Linked DNA regions of Homo sapiens: region 2 is linked to region 1. Evidence: promoter capture Hi-C in human tissues and cell types (Jung and others, 2019). All regions are on one chromosome and are shown on one strand. Each heading gives the region's core, a stretch centred on a gene start or on the middle of the fragment in contact. The rest is flanking DNA. Distances are from core to core; before and after follow the strand shown. Region 1 holds the start of TRIM9 (tripartite motif containing 9). Region 2 has its middle 43 kb from the start of LINC02319.

What was found. Contacts are between HindIII fragments. The study calls those that stand out against the background at their distance.
Region 2: a contact is called between a fragment that was not itself captured here and the fragment with the promoter of TRIM9 in region 1, in 1 of the 25 tissues and cell types used here (heart left ventricle).

Annotation. Positions count from the first base shown.
Region 1 is chr14:51,093,374-51,096,673 of GRCh38, reverse strand. It overlaps TRIM9 (tripartite motif containing 9), which reads left to right and starts at 1,569. Exons shown (of 13, transcript NM_001387360.1): 1 at 1,569-2,556. The coding sequence starts at 1,735. RefSeq lists a silencer at 1,508-1,577. The HindIII fragment of the contact is 24,626 bases long and covers 1-3,300 here.
Region 2 is chr14:52,166,647-52,169,946 of GRCh38, reverse strand. No RefSeq gene overlaps it. Among named protein-coding and RNA genes, the nearest start is that of LINC02319, 43 kb to the right of the region's middle. The HindIII fragment of the contact is 3,055 bases long and covers 52-3,106 here.

The sequences.
Region 1 (3,300 bases), core at 320-2,819:
TTATTCCCCCACACAATGATCAACTACTGTTCTCACTGCAACTAAAGATGTTGAAAAGATAACCTAGTTTATTGGACAATTTCTACAAGGGCAGTGTAATAAAATGTCCATTTTTTTTCTGGACAATAAAGTACTTTTAAATTATCAACATAGCTGCATATAATCAAGTTATCTCCTGTCTGGAAGGTGGAAAATTGGAATATTTCTAGAACTTGCAAAGAGTTTTTGTCCTTTACTTCATGAATCATTCAGCAAAAGCCGGCTATGTACTATTTCAAATGTTACTACCTCAGAATGTCACTTGACTCAAAGATTTTCCTTTCCTTTTCTTCTTCCTCCCTCCCTTTCTTCCCTTCCTTCCGCCTTTCCTTTCCCCCCCCCTTCCTTCCTCCCTCTCTCCCTCTTTCCCTTCTTCCCTCCCTCCCTCCCTCCTTGTACAGGGACTAACACTAGAATCACCGCCTCACCATGCCCCTCGTTGGAAGAAACAGAAAGGCACACGATGCTGTAAGCTATGGCAGATGCCCAGGGCACGTGGGGTTGAATAATGCTGTTTGGAGTGAAACACTGAGACTCCGCAGTCACACAGTGATTCATTTACAGAGCTTTACTAAACTACGGGCACTCAGAAATAGACAAACTGTTCTTGCCTCAACCGAACCAAAGGCCCAGCGGGCCTCGAAAAAGCTCAGCCAGGTGCTTTGGGAGGCCGCGAGGAGGAAGAAGGATCCGTGGAAGGAAGCACGTTCACACCACGGCACTGAGGCCTCTGGGCCGAGCTATAATTTAAAGCATGAAACGAAGGGGTCATAGATTCTGACTAATGCTGACCATTTCCATCGGTTACCCAGTTGAATCTCATGTCGACACTAGGAAATCGACTTTATACATGCTCTTTAGGAAACGAGGGACGCAGGATGAAAGAAGCCAAGAGTGTCGCCAGGGCTTGCGCCAGCGCCGTCAGACTCCCGGGATGGGGGAGCTCCAGGGCACGGCGTCAGCGGATTCACGGAGAAGGAGAAAAGCCCCACTGCCGTGCAGAAGCCTAGGCCCGGGTGAGACGCCTGCGAAGGCTGCCAGCAGCGGAAGAGAAGGGGCGTCCTCCGTGCTGCGCAGCACTCGCCCGCGGTAGGTGGGCGCGGAGCTCAGAGCTGGGAGCCAAACGCAAACGCTGGCGAGAAGCCCCAGCCCCCTCCGGCAGCCCACTCGCTGCGGGGAGGGGTTTCTCACGCCCCCAGCTCCTGGGAGACTGCACCGGAGGTCGGAAGTAAGCCGGGCGAGGATGAATCATCCCGCCTAACTCCTCCTTCCCGGTCCCCTAGCCTCCGCACGCCGGCCCCCTTCAGAGATCTTGCAGCCGCGAGCGAAGACTGCCCTATCCTCAGACTCTACCGAACCCCCTGTGGCCTGCGGAGACGAGGAGACGGACGGGTCTGGTGGCCAATGAGAGCTTCGATCTCTTGCCCCCCGCCCAATGGGCCGCTGCTCATGGGCCGGGGCGGGACTAGGAGGGCAGGTAGGGGCGGTCCGGGCTGGCGCGCGGCGCGGCGGCTACGCGGCTGCGGCTCACAGAGCTAGCGCCTCTCTGGGTGTCCGTGCCAGTGCTGCGCGGGAAGGCACCACCACCACAGCCGCCGCCGCTGGCCAGGGTGCTGGACAAGACGGGCCCGTCGGCCACCTCGCCAGCTCAGGCACCCGCTGCAGCCGTCGCTGTCTCCTCCCAGACCGGTCCCCATGGAGGAGATGGAAGAGGAGTTGAAATGCCCCGTGTGCGGCTCCTTCTATCGGGAGCCCATCATCCTGCCCTGCTCTCACAATTTGTGTCAGGCGTGCGCCCGCAACATCCTGGTGCAGACCCCAGAGTCTGAATCCCCCCAGAGCCATCGGGCCGCGGGCTCCGGGGTCTCCGACTATGACTATCTGGACCTGGACAAGATGAGCCTATACAGCGAGGCGGACAGCGGCTATGGCTCCTACGGGGGGTTCGCCAGCGCCCCCACTACCCCGTGCCAGAAGTCCCCCAACGGCGTCCGCGTGTTTCCCCCGGCTATGCCGCCACCGGCCACCCACTTGTCACCGGCCCTGGCCCCGGTGCCCCGCAACTCCTGTATCACCTGCCCCCAGTGTCACCGCAGCCTCATCCTGGATGACCGGGGGCTCCGCGGCTTCCCCAAGAATCGCGTACTGGAAGGGGTAATTGACCGCTACCAGCAGAGCAAAGCCGCGGCCCTCAAGTGCCAGCTCTGCGAGAAGGCGCCCAAGGAAGCCACCGTCATGTGCGAACAGTGCGATGTCTTCTACTGCGATCCGTGCCGCCTGCGCTGCCACCCGCCCCGGGGGCCCCTAGCCAAGCACCGCCTGGTGCCCCCGGCCCAGGGTCGTGTGAGCCGGAGGCTGAGCCCACGCAAGGTCTCCACCTGCACAGACCACGAGCTGGAGAACCACAGCATGTACTGCGTGCAATGCAAGATGCCCGTGTGCTACCAGTGCTTGGAGGAGGGCAAACACTCCAGCCACGAAGTCAAGGCTCTGGGGGCCATGTGGAAACTACATAAGGTGAGTCCTAAGAAAACCCACTCCTAACTCCCTGCGTCTCCGATCATCCGGTTTTGCAGCAGACGGTCCCCGTCTCTTGCGCACAGCGCATCCCAGTGGGGGCGCAATGCAGGTGCCTTCGATGTTTACCTCCCTGGTCTGGTGCATTGCAGGAGGCATGGGGGAATCTTAACCGGCGCACGGGGGAGTTGAATGCCCCCACAGAGTTGTTGCGGGGATGCCTTAGAGCGGGTCTCTCGGGGCGCGCTGCCTGCGAGCGGGACTCAGGGCGCCCCCTTTCCGCGGCGGGTCTGCAGCCAGTGGCCGCGGCCAGTGTGTGGGAAAGCACTGCATAGCTGGGTAGAGCCGCGCCAGTGCCCAGGGCCGCTAGGCACGCTCGAGGGCAGGGCGGGCTGCGAACCCTCGGGGAGGGACTGGGATGGGGGCGGTGGGGTCGCGCGGACGGCGGGAGTCTGTCGCTGCTGGATAGGCGGACCTGGTGAGGCACGGCGGAGGGTCGGGGAGACGCCGCAGGCGGAATACTGATGAGCCCGGCTCTGGGCCAGACCTGGCTCTCGAGCTGGAGAGAACGCGGGGTCCTGGTGCCACGTGCTCAAAAGACAGAGCGGAGAGGGCAGCCAGCGGTCGCCATGGCAACGCGACGTGCAGGCTTGGGCCTGAACCCTTCCGGAGTTGGGACCTGAGACTAGAGTGTCAGGACCGGAGTTTGCGCAGTCGCGGCCTGGAAGCCAGACAGGTGCATCT
Region 2 (3,300 bases), core at 330-2,829, 1.1 Mb before region 1:
CTCAATTACAGCTACAAGCTTCGCTTTTTGAGCTGAAGTATAGGGTGTCTGGAAAACTTTACCTTTTCATCCGGAATAAGAAGCTTTACCATTACTAGACCCAAGTGTAAAAACATTCCCAGCACCTTCAATTGGTTTAAATTTAGTTATTTTAGGGAGAATCCAACTAGTTAATTTCAAAAATTGAAACAGTTTCATTTTAGGAAAATGATTATCGAGAATACCCACAAAGTGAGCTAAACGGGTTTGCCAAGTAAGACTATTTACAAAAGCTTGCTGTATTTGTGCCTTTGTGAGAGTGACAATAACTTTTCCAGGATCATATTCATGTAATTTAACAATCTGAGTTCTCCTATGTTCTATCATAGTAGCAATTTGATCCAAACAAGGAGTTAGAGTCTGTGAATTAGTATGTGGAAGAAAAAGCTACTTTACTAAGTCCTGCTCTTGGACAGTAACACCAGAAGGTGAATGCTGAGTTGGAAAAATTAGCAAATCTAGAGTCTTCTCTGGATCTATTGTATTTATTTGAGCTTTACGGACTTGCTTTTTGATTAGCTGCAGCTCTACTTCAGCTTCTTTTATTAATTGTCGAGGGCTAGTGAGACTAGGATCTCCTTTAAGGATAGAAAATAGATTACTCATGGCAGAGGTAGGAATACCTAGAGCAGGTGGTATCCAATTAATGTCCCCTAGTAATTTTTGAAAGTCATTTAACACTTTCAACTGATCCCTATATATGGCTACTTTCTGTGGCACAATGGTAATGTCATTAACTAAGGTCCCCAATTAGGAGTAAGGATTAGTAGTATGAATTTTGTCAGGAGCTATAATTAAACCAGCATGAGAAATCAAATTTTGCATGTGATCATAACATTGGAGTAATATTTCTCAAGTGGGGGCAGCACAAAGTATATTGTCTATATAATGAATAATGTAACACATGAAAATTTTTTATGAGTAGGTTCAATTGCTTGCCCTACATAAGTCTGGCAAATTGTTGGACTGTTTAACATGCCTTGTGGCAACCTTTCCAATGAAAATGCTTAGCAGGCTGCAGGTTGTTTACTGCAGGAATTGTAAATGTAAACCGTTCAGTTTTGCTCAGCTAAGGGGATAGTAAAGAAACAGTCTTTTAAATCTATGACTATTAAAGGCCAATTTTTTAGAATCATAGCAGGAGATGCTATGGCTGTAATGCTCCCATAGGTGGTATAACTGAATTAATGGCTCTTAAATCAGTTAACATTCTCCATTTACCTGATTTTTTCTTAATTATGAAAACTAGAGAATTCCAAGGGGAAAATGTTGGAGCTATGTGTCCTTTTTCTAATTGTTCATTAACGAAGTCCTCTAAAGCCTCCAGTTTCTCTTTACTTAGTGGCCATTGTTCTATCCAAATTGGCTTATCTGTTAACCATTTTAAAGGTATAGGTTCTACAGGCTTAACAATGGCCACCATCAAAAATGATATTGTGTCCGGAATTGGTGGGTTCTTGGTCTCACTGACTTCAAGAATGAAGACGTGGACCCTCGTGGTGAGTGTTACAGTTCTTAAAGGTGGTGTGTCCGGAGTTTGTTCCTTCTTATGGGTTAATGGTCTCGCTGGCTTCAGGAGTGAAGCTGCAGACCTTCACAGTGAGTGTTGCAGCTCTTAAGGCAGCATGTCTGGAGTTGTTCATTCCTCCCATCCAGAGTTGTTCATTCCTCCCAGTGGGTTCATGGTCTTGCTGGCTGGCCTCAGGAGTGAAGCTGCAGACCTTCGTCGTGAGTGTTACAGCTCATAAAGGCAGTGCAGACCCAAAGAGTGGGCAGCAGCAAGATTTATTGCAAAGAGTGAAAGAACAAAGCTTCCACAGTGTGGAAGGGGACCCGAGCGGGTTGCCGCTGCTGGCTCGGGCAGCCTGCTTTTATTCCCTTATCTGACCCCACCCACATCCTGCTGATTGGCCCATTTTACAGAGAGCTGATTGGTCCATTTTAGAGAGAGCTGATTGGTCCATTTTACAGAGAGCTGATTGATCCATTTTGACAGGGTGGTGATTGGTGCATTTACAATCCCTGAGCTAGACACAGAGTGCTGATTGGTGTATTTACAATCCTCTAGCTAGATGTAAAAGTTCTCCAAGTCCCCACTAGATTAGCTAGACACAGAGCACTGATTGGTGCATTTACAAACCTTGAGCTAGACACAGGGTGCTGATTGGTGCCTTTACAAACCTTGAGCTAGATACAGAGTGCTGATTGGTGTGTTTACAAATCTTGAGCTAGATACAGAGTGCTGACTGGTGCATTTGCAGTCCTCCAGCTAGACATAAAAGTTCTCCAAGTCCCCACCCAATTAGTTAGATACAGAGTGTTGATTGGTGCATCCACGAACCCTGAGCTAGACACAGAGTGCTGACTGGGGCATTTACAATCCTCCAGCTAGACATAAAAGCTCTCCAAGTCCCCACCAGATTAGCTAGACACAGAGCACTGATTGGTGCATTCACAAACTTTTAGCTAGACACAGAGTGCTGATTGGTTGATTTACAATCCCTGAGCTAAACTCAGAGTGCTGATTGATGCATTTACAATCCTCTAGCTAGACATAAAAGTTCTCCAAGTCCCCACCAGATTAGCAAGACACAGCACTGATTGGTACGTTTACAAACCCCAAGCTAGACACGGAGTGCTGATTGGTGCATTTACAATCCTCCAGCTAGACATAAAAGTTCTCCAAGTCCCCACCCAACTCAGGAACCCAGCTGGCTTCTCCTAGTGGATCCCACCCCAGGGCTGCGGATGGAGCTGCCTGCCAATCCCGTGCTGCACGCCTGCACTCCTCAGCCCTTGGGCAGTCGATGGGACCGGGCACTGTGGAGCAGGGGGCGGTGCCCATCAGGGAGGCTTGGGACACTTGGGAGCCCACCACAGGGGGGCTCAGGCATGGCAGGCTGCAAGTCCTGAGCCCTGCCCTGTGGGGAGGTGGCTGAGGCCTGGCAAGAATTCGAACATGGCGCGGGTGGGCTGGCAGTGCTGAGGGACCTGGCACACCCTCTGCAGCTGCTAAGCCCAGGTGCTAAGCCCCTCACTGCCCAGGGCCGGCAGCGCTGGCTGGTTGCTCTGAGTGCAGGGCCCACTGAGCCCACGCCCACCTGGACCTCACGCTGGCCCAAAAGCGCCACGCACAGCCCCGGTTCCCACCCACGCCTCTCCCTCCACACCTCCCTGCAAGCAGAGGGAGCTGGCTCCAGCCTCAGCCAGCCCAGAGAGGGGCTCCCACAGTGCAGTGGCGGGCTGAAGGCCTCCTTAAGC